Regions from separate parts of the Homo sapiens genome. Here region 1 is linked to region 2. The links are contacts of gene promoters, found by promoter capture Hi-C in blood cells and fetal thymus (Javierre and others, 2016). All regions are on one chromosome and are shown on one strand. The core of a region is centred on a gene start or on the middle of the fragment in contact, and the rest is flanking DNA. Distances in the headings are between cores, read along the strand shown.

Region 1 (6,496 bases), core at 1,763-4,262, 180 kb before region 2:
GTGTTTTTCTTTGTATGGACTATTCTATAATTATGAGCTGGGAATTTTTCATTGTTCAGTTGTTTTTCTGATTTTTGGTAGACTGGACATTTTCCTGTGTTTCCTGACCATTTGCATCTCCTCTCCTGCTCTGTGCACTATCACCCTGCTCCAGCTGCTTCCCGGAGCCTCCCTCCTTCCTCTCCACCTGCCCGCGTCCTCCTTGTCCTTCAGTTTCTTCCTAAGGGCCCATGGGCTTTCTTTGGCTTTTACGTTCCTCTCACTCCACCTTTGACAGTTGCTGGGCTTCCCATCCCCTGGGAGGTTTCAGAGGATGGGGAAGACAGAGGAGTGCAGTTGCCATGCAGTGCAATATGGGCCATAATGTTCATCCTCCACGGCCTGTATTGAGGACTTGCTGTGTGCCAAGAATCTGCTCTAAGAATGTAACTGTGCTCCCTCACTTCATGCTCATAACCACCTGTGAGATGGGCAATGTTCTCATCCACTTTTACACAGAGAACACAGAGGCACAGAGGAGTTTCATAAATTGCTACCAAGGCCTTCCGCTGGTGTGCAGCAGGGTCAAACCCAGGCTGTCTGGCCCTGGGGTTCAGCCTCTCAAGTGCTCTGCTAGATGTTGGACAGGACAAACGAGACACAGAGAATGAACACCACCTGACTTGGGCTGGGGAAGTCAGGGATGGCTTCCTGGAGGAGGTGACACCTCAGTGGAACCTTGAAGGAGGAGCAGGAGGAGCTGACCAGGCAATGAATAAGTATGTCCAGGAAAAAGGAAAGGCCTGAGTGATGCTGGGAGGCTGGAGAGCTGGCCTTGGGTGTGTGGCGGAGGGGGGGCAGGAGATCAGGACCAAGGGTTTGACCAAGGCCAGATCTTGAAGACTCGGGCCATCCCATAGTTGATACCTTATCCCAGGGCCAGGCAGGCCTTCCACTGCTCTGTGCGCACTGGTGGGCAGTGCCTCATGGGATGCTAGGAGCCTAGACCCCAGCCACCCACCTGGGCTCCTGAGACCCGAGGTGCAGGCACGGGGCTGGGAGGGGTTGCAGCTGATTTACATTCAACAGATTGAGGGGAAAACTGCAGGTGCCTCGCTGTGCAGATGGAACCCACCGCCAGATGGACCCCGGAGACAGCCTAGATTCACAGCCTTTCCCTGCTGCTCTGTCCCCACACCCCAGGCGGGGAGCAAATCTTTTCTCTGATCATCTTTTGTGCTCACCACCCATATCCCAGACATGTACCCGACCAGGGGCTCAAATACATACAGTTTCTGAGCGAGCTGGATAAGGCAGTGACCAGAGGCTGCCTCGACACAGGATGAAATTGCCCAGTGCTCTGGCACCACGAGTCAGAACCCAGCCAGAACTGTGACCTGGCAGTGGCAGAAGCTGTCTGGTGCTGCCAAATCAGCCCTGGCCAGTTGTTCATTGACCCCCTCTGGGACCTTGGCTGAGCCACTTCCCCTCAGCTGTAAAATGAAGAAGACTGTCTTTCCTATTAGATATCCCTCAAAAACACAAAAGTGCTTTGAACCTGCCAGACTCCCTCTTGAAGAGTCACAAGAAAAGGCTCTGAGAAGTCCTGCAGTTAAAAAAATTTTTTGACTTTCTTTAACCCAGCATTTTTCAAGCTAATTGACCACAGAGCTCTTTCTTGGTGCAACACCTGTTAACCGGCCAAGTGTGTGAGGAGGCACAAGTAGAGAGCTCTGAGAATCACCCTCCTTGGCTGCTCTCTGGTCTCAGGGTGCAGGAAAGAGTCTCCGTGCTACATCCCAGTCTGCGGTAGTCCAGGGTGTGAGCCCAGCCCACAGAGCTAGTGTCAGAGAGGAATTCCCTTTCTTCCCTTTCTGTTAATGGAGCTTCTCCCTCAAGCTTCTACTCCACCTGGCTGGTGTCAGTCTTAGGGTTTTCATGCTCCTCTTTGGGCTTGATGGGGGTTCTGGGATTTTATGTAGGTTGAGATAGCAGTAGAGGAGGAAGGGCATGGACAGCTTCTCTGATCAGTTGGGCATCTGCCATCAGGTCAGTCGGGCATTATCTCCCCCTCAGGTCCGGTGGCTTTGGTGGCTTCCAGGCCATGAATGGGCCCTGGAGCCTCCCCAAGGCTGCCCTTGTCACATAGGATCCACTGCCGGACTTTACTCAGCCACTGCTTCACACTATGGCAGGGTGGGTGGTAGCTCCCTCCTTCTCCACTCCCCAGCCCAAACTGGGGGAGAATTAGGAGTCTGTTTTTAATTTTGTTTGATCCTTTGATTTTAGATTTGCTTTTGAATAGATAATATAGTCAGATGATTTGAAACTCAGAATGTATTGAAAGATTATTAATAAAGTCTTTTTTCCCTCTTTGTCCACCAACTGCTCCCTTCTCGCCTCCCCTCGAGTAAGCAGTTTTCTTAAGATGTAATTTCCATGCCATAAAGTTCACCTGTGTAAAGTGTACAAGTCTGTTTTTTAGTGTATTTACACAGTTATGCAACAATCACCCTAACTAATTTTAGAACATATTTTTAGAACTAATTTAGAACTAATTTTGATCACCCCAAAAAGAAACCTTGTCAATCTTCATTCCTCCCCTACCCTAGGCTACCACTAATTTATTATCTGTCTCTATAGATTTGCCTGTTTTGGACATTTTCCATAAATGGAATCATACAATATGTGATGTATTGTGACTAGCTTCTTCCACTTGGCATAATGTTTTCAAGGGCTGTCCATGTTGTAGCAGGTATCAGTACTTGCTTCAGTTTTGTGGCTAAGTAACATTCCACTTTATGGATATGTCATATGGCTTTTCCAGTCATCGGTGGATGGACATTTGGGTTGTTTCTACTTTTTTGGTCACTGTGATTGTTAATAATGCCTCCATGAACTTTTGGGTTCAAGTTTTGGGTGAACATGTTTCATTTCTCTTGAGTAGATGGATACCTAGAAGTGGAATTACTGGGTCATATGATAATTCTACATTTAGCATTTTAAGGACCTGCCAAACTGCTTTCCAGAGCAGCTGCACTATTTTATAATTTACTTCGTGCACGAGGGTTCCGATTTCTCCACATCTTCACTGACACTTGTTATTGACCATCTTTCTCACTCTAGCCTTCCCAGGGGGTATGAGGTGGTATCTCAGTGTGGTTTGGGTTTGCATTTCCCTAGTGACAAATGATGTTGAGCATCTTTTCATGTGCTTGTTGTCCAGTCATATGTCTTTTATGGTAAAATGTCTCTTGAAATTTGTCTTTTCGTTATTCTGTTATAAGCATTCTTTATATTAATATATTCTGGATACTAATATATTCTGGATACTCTTACTTAGCAATGAAGACTGTTTGCGGTATGGGTCCAACCTGCGTTCCAGTTGGAATGTCCTAGTCACCTATGCATCCACCCAACAAATACTGCCAGAGAGCCTACCATGCGTATATATGGCAGAGTCCCTGGCCTCAGGAAGCCCACGGTCTAGTCCAGACACACAACACCACCCACGTTCTTTGAACTTCCACTTCTCTCTAGATTTCTTGAGCCAACTAACAACTCTCAAGTACTTTGCCTATTCAGTATTGTTTTTTACAGCCCTTAATTTCATTTTGCACACTACTTACTGTTGAGTTTTAATATTTGCAAATATTTGCTTCTATTCTGTGACTTGTCTTTTTACTCTCTCAGTAGTATCCTTTGGTCCTATTAAAATTAAAACAAGTTATAATTTTCATGAAGTTCAATTTATCTAATTTTTTTCTTTCATTGTCTGTGCCTTTGTTGCCATATCCAAAGTATCATTTCCAAATTCAGTTGATGGAGATTTTTCTCCTGTGTTTTCTTTTAAAACATTTATAGTTTTAGCCTGTAGCCCATTTTGAGTTAATTTTTGTATATGGTGTCAGATAAGGATTCAGCTTCATTCACGCACATGGATAGCCAGTTTTTCCAGCGTAATTTGTTGAAGAGACTGTCCTTTTCCCCATTGAGTGGAATTGTTAGTGTTTTTTACATAGAAGATTATGTTGTCTGTGAACAGAGATATTCTTATGCTCTCCTTTCCAATGTTTATATCTTTATTTCTTTTTCTTGCATAAGTGCTCTGGCTATGTTGAAGAGAAGTGACATGTGTGCATCCTGATCTTGTTCCTGATCTTAGGGGAAAGCTTTCACTCTTTCACCACTGAGAATGTTGTTAGCTGTGGGATTCTCAAATATGGCCTTTATCATGATAGGGAAGTTACTTTCTACCCTAGTTTCTTGTGTTTTTATCATGAAAAAGTATTGGATTTTTTAAATTGTTTTTTCTGCATCAACTGAGATGAACATAGTTTTTTCTGTAATTTTTTTCCTTTTTTTTTTGAGATGGAGTCTCACTCTGTCACCCAGGCTGGAGTGCAGTGGTGCAATCTCGGCTCACTGCAACCTCTGCCTCCTGGGTTTGAGCGATTCTCCTGCCTCAGCCTCCCAGGTAGCTGGGACTACAGGCACCCGCCACCACACCCGGCTAATTTTTTGTATTTTTAGTGGAGATGGGGTTTCACCATGTTAGCCAGGATGGTCTTGATCTCCTGACCTCATGATCCACCCGCCTCAGCCTCCCAAAGTGCTGGGATTACAGGCATGAGCCACCATGCCTGGCCTTTTAATTTTTTTAATGTGGTGCATTTTACTGATTGTTTTTTTTATGTTGAACCATCTTTGCACTCCAGGAATAAATTCCACTTGGTTATGGTGAATAATTTCTTTGATATGCTGTTGGGTTCACTTTGCTAATATTTTATTGAGAATTTTTGCATCTAAATACTTAAGGCATATTGGTCTGTAATTTTCTTTTTTGTGATGGCTTCATTGGGCTTTGGTATCAGTGTAATGCTGACTTTATAGAATGAGTTAGGAAGTGTTCCCTCCTCTTTGATTTTTGGGAAGAGTTTGAGAAGAATTAGAGTTGATTCTTTAAATGTTTTGGTGGGGTTCACTAGTAAAGCAATCTGGTCTTGTGCTTGTCATTGTTTTTTTTTTTTTTTTTTTTTTTGACAAAGTTTTGCTCTTGTTGCCCAGGGTGGAGTCCAATGGTACAATCTCGGCTCACTGCAACCTCTGCCTCCCGGGTTCAAGCGATTCTCATGCCTCAACCTCTTGAGTAGCTGGGATTACAGGCATGTGCCACCACACCTGGCTAATTTTTGTATTTTTAGTAGAGACAGGGTTTCTCCATGTTGGTCAGGCTGGTCTTGAACTCCCGACCTCAAGTGATCTGCCCGCCTCGGCCTCCCAAAGTGCTAGGATTAAAGGTGTGAGCCACCACACCCGGCCAGTAGGTTTCTTATTACTGATTCAGTCTCCTCACTTCCTCACCAGTTGTAGGTCTATTCAGATTTTCTGTTTCTTAATGTGTCAGTTTTGGTAGATTGTGTGTTTCTAGGAATATGCCCATTTTATCCAGGTTATAAAATTTATTGGTATACTGCTGTTCATAGTATTCTCTTATAATCTTTTTTATTTTCATAAAATAAGTAATACTGTTTCCAATTTCACTTCTGATTTTAATAATTTGAGTCTTCTCTCTTTTTCTTAGTAAATTTCCTTTCTGATTTTGATAGTTTGAGTTTTCTCTTTTTCTTAACAAATTTCATTTCTGATTTTGATAATTTGAGTCTTTTTATTAGTCTAGCTAATGTGTTGCTAATTTTGTTGATCTTTTAAAGAGCTAGCTTTTGGTTTTGTTGATTTTCTCTATTGTTTTTCCATCTGTATGTTGTTTATCTCTGCTGTAATCATTATTTCCATCTGCTAGCTTTGGGTTTGGTTTGCTCTTCCTTTTCTATTTCCTCAAGGTGTATAATTAGGTTATGATCTGGTTATGTTTCTTCTTTTTCAGTGTATGCGTTTACATAAACTTCCCTCTTCACATTGTTTTATTGTATCCCATAACTTTTGGCATGTTGCCTTTTCATTTTCCTTTGTCTCAAGATATTTTCAAATTTCCCTTGTCATTTCTTCTTTGACCAGTTGAGAAAGAGTGTGTTTAATTTCCACATGTGTGAATTTTCCAGTTCTCCTTCTGTTATTGATTTGTAGTTTTATAACATTGTGATCAGAAAAGATACTTTGAATTATTTTAAATTTTTAAGAATGTGTTAAGGTTTGTTTTGTGGCCTAACATGTGGTCTATCCTGGAGAACGTACCATGTGCACTTGAGAGGAATGTGTATTCTCCTGTTGTGGGGTGGAGTGTTGTGTATGTGTCTGTTGTGTCCAGTTGGTTTGTAGTGTTGTTCAAGTCCTGTATTTTCTTATTGATCTGTCTGGTTGTTCTATTATTGAAAGTGAAGTATTGAAATGTCCTAGTATTAGTGTAAGAGTATTTCTCCCTTTCATTCTGTCAATTTTTAAAAATATACTTTGGGATCCTGCTATTAGGTTTATATAAATTTATAATTGTTATATCTTCTTGCTGCGTTCCTTTTTATTTTTATTTATTTATTTTAGATGGAGTTTCACTCTTGTT
Region 2 (6,179 bases), core at 2,969-5,468:
TCCCGACTTCAGATGATCTGCCCACCTTGGCCTCCCAAAGTGCTGGGATTACAGGCATGAGCCACTGTGGCCGGCAAGACCCTGTCTCTTAAAAAAAAAAAAAAAAAAAAAAGACAGCAGAAATTCAACAGAAAATCTGGAAGATAAAGTTCAAGAAAGTTCCCAGGAAGTAGAGAAAATATAAAAGCAACACAGAAGCCACAGTAAGTCAACCAGAAGGACAACAGAGGACATCCAGTAACTTAATTACAGAAATACCGGAAAGAACAGAGAAAACAGATGGAGGGAATTCATCAATCAAATAATTCAAAATTCCCCACAGCTGAAGGACATGAATTTCTAGCTTGAAAGGGCCCACTGTGTGCCCACACTGTGAAGTGAAAAAAAAAAAACTTTATCAGAAGATTCAGAACACTGGTTATGAAGAAAACATAATTCAAACTTCCAGAGAAAAAAAAGGTCACATACAAAAATCAGGAGTAACACTAGAAGCTAAGATGTAGTGGAAAAATGTTTTCAGATGTCTGAAGAAATATTATTTCCAACAAATAATTCAATACCTAGACAAACAATCACTTAAGTGTAAGGGCAGAAAAAGAACTTTTTCAGCCGGGCGCGATGGTCAGCCTGACTAACATTTAGTATCTCTACTAAAAATAGAAAAACTATTAGCCGGGCATGGTGGCGCATGCCTGTAATCCCAGCTACTCGAGAGACTGAGGCAGGAGAATCCCTTGAACCCAGGAGGCAGAGGGTGCGGTGAGCAGAGATTGCACCATTGCACTCCAGCCTGGGCAACAAGAGCGAAACTCCGTCTCAAAAAAAACCCAAAAAAACAAAAAAACCCCACAACTTTTTCAGACATAAGCCTCAAACAGGGGCCGGTGTGGGGGCTCACAACTATAATCCCAGCACTTTGGGAGGCCAAGGCAGAAGGATCGCCTGAGCCCAGGAGTTCCAGAGTAGCCTGGGCAACAAAGGAAGACCCGTCTCTACAGAAAATAAAATAATCAGCTGGGCATGAGGTGTGATTGCGCAACTGTACTCTAGCCTGGGGAACAGAGTGAGACCCGGTCTCAAAAAATAGAAAAGAAAGCCTCAAAAGGTACATCTCATGCCCCCTTCTTCAGGAAGCTGGCAGAGTCTGTGTGCCATAATATAAGGTAGTAAGCCTGGGCAACACAGTGAAACCCCGTCTCTACAAACAATACAAAAACTAGCTGGGCATGGTGGTGCACACCTGTGGTACCAGTTACTCAGGAGGCTGAGACAAGAGGATCTCTTGAGCCTGGGAGGTTGAGGGAGCAGTGACCTATGATTGTGCCACTGCACTCCAGCCTGGGTGACAGAGCAAGACCTTGTCTCGAAAAAAAAAAAAAAAATTTTACATGGGCCGGGTGCGGTGGCTCATGCCTGTAATCCTGGCACTTTGGGAAGCCAAGGCAGGTGGACCTCTTGAGCTCCAGACTTCGAGTCCAGCCTAGGCAACATAGTGAGACCTTGTCTCTACAAAAAATACAAAAAACTAGCCAGCTGTGGTATTGTGTGCCTGCAGTCCCAGATACTCACTTGGGAGGCTGAGGTGGGAGGATCATCTGAGCCTAGGAGGTCAAAGCTACAGTGAGCTTTGATCATGCTATTGCACATCAGCCTGGGTGACAGACTGTCTCAAAAAAAAAAAAAAGAGGTAGTAAACTGAGAAAAAGAAAACTGTAGGATATACTAAACATAGGACCCAACAAAGATACAGAGAATTCCCAGATAATAATGGTTAAGAGAGATCTCAGCAAACAGCCGAGAGATCAGCCAGTCCATATTAAGCAAGTCCGAAGGCTCTAGAGATGTCTTCAGGAAGGTGAAACTGATAACATACTTCGTTCATCTGAACATCTTGAGGGGAGATTGAGAACACTAGTAAAGGATGTGAGGTTAAAGTAGGAATAAATATGTAAAAAACTAAATAAGCACATAAACAAAACCAAGATAGTTGTAACTCCAGGGAAATCCAAAAGTTACAAAGAAAACAAAAAGTAATCATAGCTTCCTACATGGTTCCACTGTGACTAGTTTATATATCATCATACAAATAAAACTTGGAATCTTGATCTAAAAAAATTACCACTGAAGAATGGGGGTTAGGAAGGGTGCATAACTATATATTAATAGAAAAAAGATTTTGAAAAAGACAGAAAACAGGGCTTCTGAAAATAAACATGAATCAACAGCATTGGTTCCTGTGTCTGAACCATGGGTGTCAGGGGCAATGATTATGCCCCCTTCAGGACTGTCAATGTGTCTTGTGAACCTTCTTGTTGGAGGGAAAAAACCCAAAACTGGCTGGGCACGGTGGCTCACGCCTGTAATCCCAGCATTTTGGGAGGCTGAGGTGTCCGTATCACAAGGTCAGGAGTTTGAGACCAGCCTGGCCAATATGGTGAAACCCCGTCTCTTCTAAAAATACACAAATTAGCCGGGTGTGGTGGCATGCGCCTGTAGTCACAGCTACTTGGGAGGCTGAGGCAGGAGAATCACTTGAACTTGGGAAGCGGAGGTTGCACTGAGCTGAGATCGCCCATTGCACTCCAGCCTGGGAGACAGAGCAAGACTCTGTCTAAAAAAAAAAAACAAACCAACCCAAACTACTGTCAGTGTATGGATTAACCTATTCAGACACAGAACAGTTCTGGCGATTATTGTTTAAAGTGACAGCATTCCAAACCCTCAGGCCATCAAATCTGAGAGCCCAGAACAATTGTATAAGCTAACATCAGTTGGCTTTTTTCCCATCCTTTTTGGAAACAAGTATGTTTGAATACTTGGCTGCACTAATCTTTCAAGCACATATACTTAAGTCTCCTTAATTTTGACTGAGATGAGGAAACAAAGTTGGCTTATTTTTCTCAGTTCCTTAAAAACAGTAACTCAAGATAAACCCTTTCAAAATGCAGTACAGTACTTTTAAAACAAAAGCCATCCAAGTTGAATAAGCGATGGCAGTTTGGGGGCCTGATATGGCTGTTATTTATAAGGTGGCCATTTTTACATCCTAAGAGTAGTTCATTAGTCAATGCATTTTGAGTATATCAAATTTGATTTGATCTTATCCTAGCATACTCTGAACACATCTTGAGATCAACCCTTCTCAAGTGATTTTGGTGAGCATAGCCAAAGAGTACCCTCTGCTGGTCAGAAAAAAAATGGTGCTTTCACAATACCCAGATTTACTCCAACGATTGCATATGCATTTAGGTTTTGTGGCTCTTAAAATGCTTTTTTTTTTTTTTTTGAGATGGAATTTCGCTCTTGTTGCCCAGGCTGGAGTGCAATGGCGCGATCTCGGCTCACGGCAACCTCCGCCTCCCGGGTTCAAGCGATTCTCCTGCCTCAGCCTCCTGAGTAGCTGGAATTACAGGCGCCCGCCACCACGCCCAGCTAATTTTTTGTATTTTTAGTAGAGACGAAGTTTCACCATGTTGGCCAGGCTGGTCTCGAACTCCTGACCTTAGGTAATCCAACTGCCTCGGCCTCCCAAAGTGCTGGGATTACGGGAGTGAGCCACTGCGCTGGGCCTACTTTTTAAAGTGTATGGAAGCATTAACTTTAATGTTAACATCAGAATTTGAGAAAAAGAAGTTTAATAATTCAAAATTTCGTGTAAAATAATCAAGAACTCCACGTTTCTATCACTCACTGTAGGCTCCCGTCCCTTCCACCCCCGGGCGGGGACCCCTCCCAGCGACCCGGCCAGCTCTCAGCACTTCGGTCCCCACTGGCCTACTCGCTCCGACGGAGGGGCTCCTGCAACTGCGCTGTACCGTAAATATTTGCTGAATCGATTTGACTTTTACTTGTTCCAATTTCGCTTTTTTGTTGTTTTGTTTTTTTGTCTTTTTACGAACAAGAGGTTTAGAGAACCACATGGAAAAAAGGCAGGGCCAGGCCCGGACACCCCGCCTCCTGCCTCCCGGCCCGGCGGTGCCCGGATGCCCCGCCCGCGCCCATGGCGCAGCCACACACGACCTCGGTCCCGTACTTCGCGCGCTCTCCTGCACCGCCGCCGCCATCTCGCTCAGGAGCTCCTCCACAACCGCCGGCAACACTACGGCCATCGCGCCGCAGGACACGCCCTCCACGACCGGCGGACCGCCGCGACGCTCCAGCTGACTGCGCCTACCTGTGGAGGATCCTGACCCCCCGCCGGGGCAGGGCGAGACGGAGTGACGTCGGGGCGCGTCATCGCGCGTGCGGACGCAGGGATGTCCTGCTCAGTCGTCAGGGCCCGGCCAATCCGGAGGGCGCTCGGCGCGTGGTCGGGGGCCAGGAGCGCGTCTGGCCTGCAGTGCGCAGAGGACGCGGCGGGAGCATGTTCCGGCTCCTGAGCTGGAGCCTGGGCCGAGGCTTCCTGCGGGCCGCGGGGCGGCGGTGCCGGGGCTGCTCCGCGCGCCTGCTCCCGGGGCTGGCAGGAGGTCCGGGGCCCGAGGTGCAGGTGCCGCCATCCCGAGTCGCGCCGCACGGCCGGGGCCCAGGCCTGCTGCCGCTGCTGGCAGGTGAGGGGCGCGGGCCGGGCGGGGCCGGCCGGGCGGGGACAGGGGCGCGGGCCGGGCCCGATGACCTCAGAGCCCCTTCCCGCAGCGCTCGCCTGGTTCTCGAGGCCCGCTGCGGCAGAGGAGGAGGAGCAGCAGGGAGCCGACGGGGCCGCTGCCGAGGACGGGGCGGACGAGGCCGAGGCAGAGATCATCCAGCTGCTGAAGCGAGCCAAGGTGAGGCGGCTCCGGGCCCTGCGCCCGGCCGAGCGCGGTAGCCTTTGTGAGCGGGGTCTTGGCGTTGCTGCGCATTACTCTCTCCGCCTCGCCGAAGAGTGGATGGAGGCTCCGCGGGTAAAATTGCCGAGAATGAGGTGGGTCATCCGAGAGGGGATTGGAATCCATCCAGGCTTTTCCGACTCTAAGGCCTGCAGTAAAACCTCTGCAGTGTCAAGTGCAAATGGAGATGGCGCCCTAGGCATCACGCTTTATGCAAACGAAATATCGGGAACGTTTTGTAGTGGTTTTATCAATTAACCAGCCTATCTGAAATGACATAATTTCGCACGTATATAGCGGCCTGAAAATGGCAACTTAGTGTTGGTTATGCGGTTCGGTTCTCCTCCTGAATTCTTCCTTTTCTCCACATCCTTTTCTATTTTTTTTTCCTCCTCTTTTCCCAAGTTATCTCATCTCTTCCATTGAGCTAAATACCTACTCGATGCCAACAACGTCCAAATTTGTATTTCCATTCTGTAGTGTGCTACTGACATGCCATTTGCACTTTAGGACCATACCTACCTCTCAGATTTAACATGCCCAAAACTAAACGATCTTTAATGCCTCCTCAACATACGCTTTCGCCATCTCTTTACTACCATCAGTTTTTCAGCCTAAAAACCTCATAGTCATTCTTAAAACTTGTGGTACCTTACCATTGCCTTCCAATACACTTACAGTCCAGCAACAAGTCCTGTTGCCAACAAATGCAAAATATTTCTCAAATCTTTCCCCTTTTGTCTATCTCCCTTGCTGTCACCCTAGTGCAAACCATCATTGCCACCAACTATGCTCCAGTAGTCTTTCCTGGCCTCCTGGCCTCTTGCAATCTATTCTCCATGCAGAAACCAAAGCGACCAAAAAAAAAAAGAGTAAATTGGATTATGTCATCTCCTTGTCAGAAAGCTCTGAATGGCTACCCACTGCATTTATGATAAAATACAAACTCCTTGCCTTGGCTTGCAACACCCCACATGATCTAAACCAGCATATACCTTGCCCACCCATTTGGCAGTAATCCTCTGGCTCACCATCCTCCCTTCACATCTATTTCTTTGCATTTCTTCCTCAAAACCATTCTCTTCAGCTTGTAGGGACTTCACTCATTCTCTACCCTCTGTTTGAGTCATTGTTCTCCCCAGGTCCTTATTTGGTTGACTCATTCTCATCCTTACTACCTCAGTTTAGCTGTCACTTCCTTGGAAGGCTTCCCTAAGTCCTATTTAGAGGAGACCCCTTATCATTCCTTTCTGTCATCTTTATAGCTCTTATCATTAGTTGTAATTAAGCTTACTTGTCCTATATGGTCACCTCCAGCCTGCAAGAAATTAGAAAGAGGATGGAGGACAAGCAGCTTCCTTATAAAATATGTTGTAA

The links. The method cuts DNA at HindIII sites, captures the fragments that hold promoters and counts their contacts. A CHiCAGO score of 5 or more calls a contact.
Region 1: a contact is called between a fragment that was not itself captured here and the fragment with the promoter of ZSWIM7 in region 2, in 6 of 17 cell types (naive CD4 T cells, erythroblasts, total CD4 T cells and 3 more). The highest score is 6.4, in naive CD4 T cells.

Annotation. Positions count from the first base shown.
Region 1 is chr17:15,821,099-15,827,594 of GRCh38, forward strand. No RefSeq gene overlaps it. Among named protein-coding and RNA genes, the nearest start is that of LINC02087, 6.6 kb to the left of the region's middle. The HindIII fragment of the contact is 2,273 bases long and covers 1,877-4,149 here.
Region 2 is chr17:15,995,486-16,001,664 of GRCh38, forward strand. ZSWIM7 (zinc finger SWIM-type containing 7) reads right to left here and starts at 4,219. Exons shown (of 5, transcript NM_001042697.2): 1 at 4,034-4,219. The coding sequence starts at 4,109. TTC19 (tetratricopeptide repeat domain 19) reads left to right here and starts at 4,339. Exons shown (of 10, transcript NM_017775.4): 1 at 4,339-4,547; 2 at 4,633-4,760. The coding sequence starts at 4,364. RefSeq lists silencers at 3,793-3,952, 4,303-4,692 and an enhancer at 4,093-4,182. The HindIII fragment of the contact is 18,071 bases long and covers 1-6,089 here.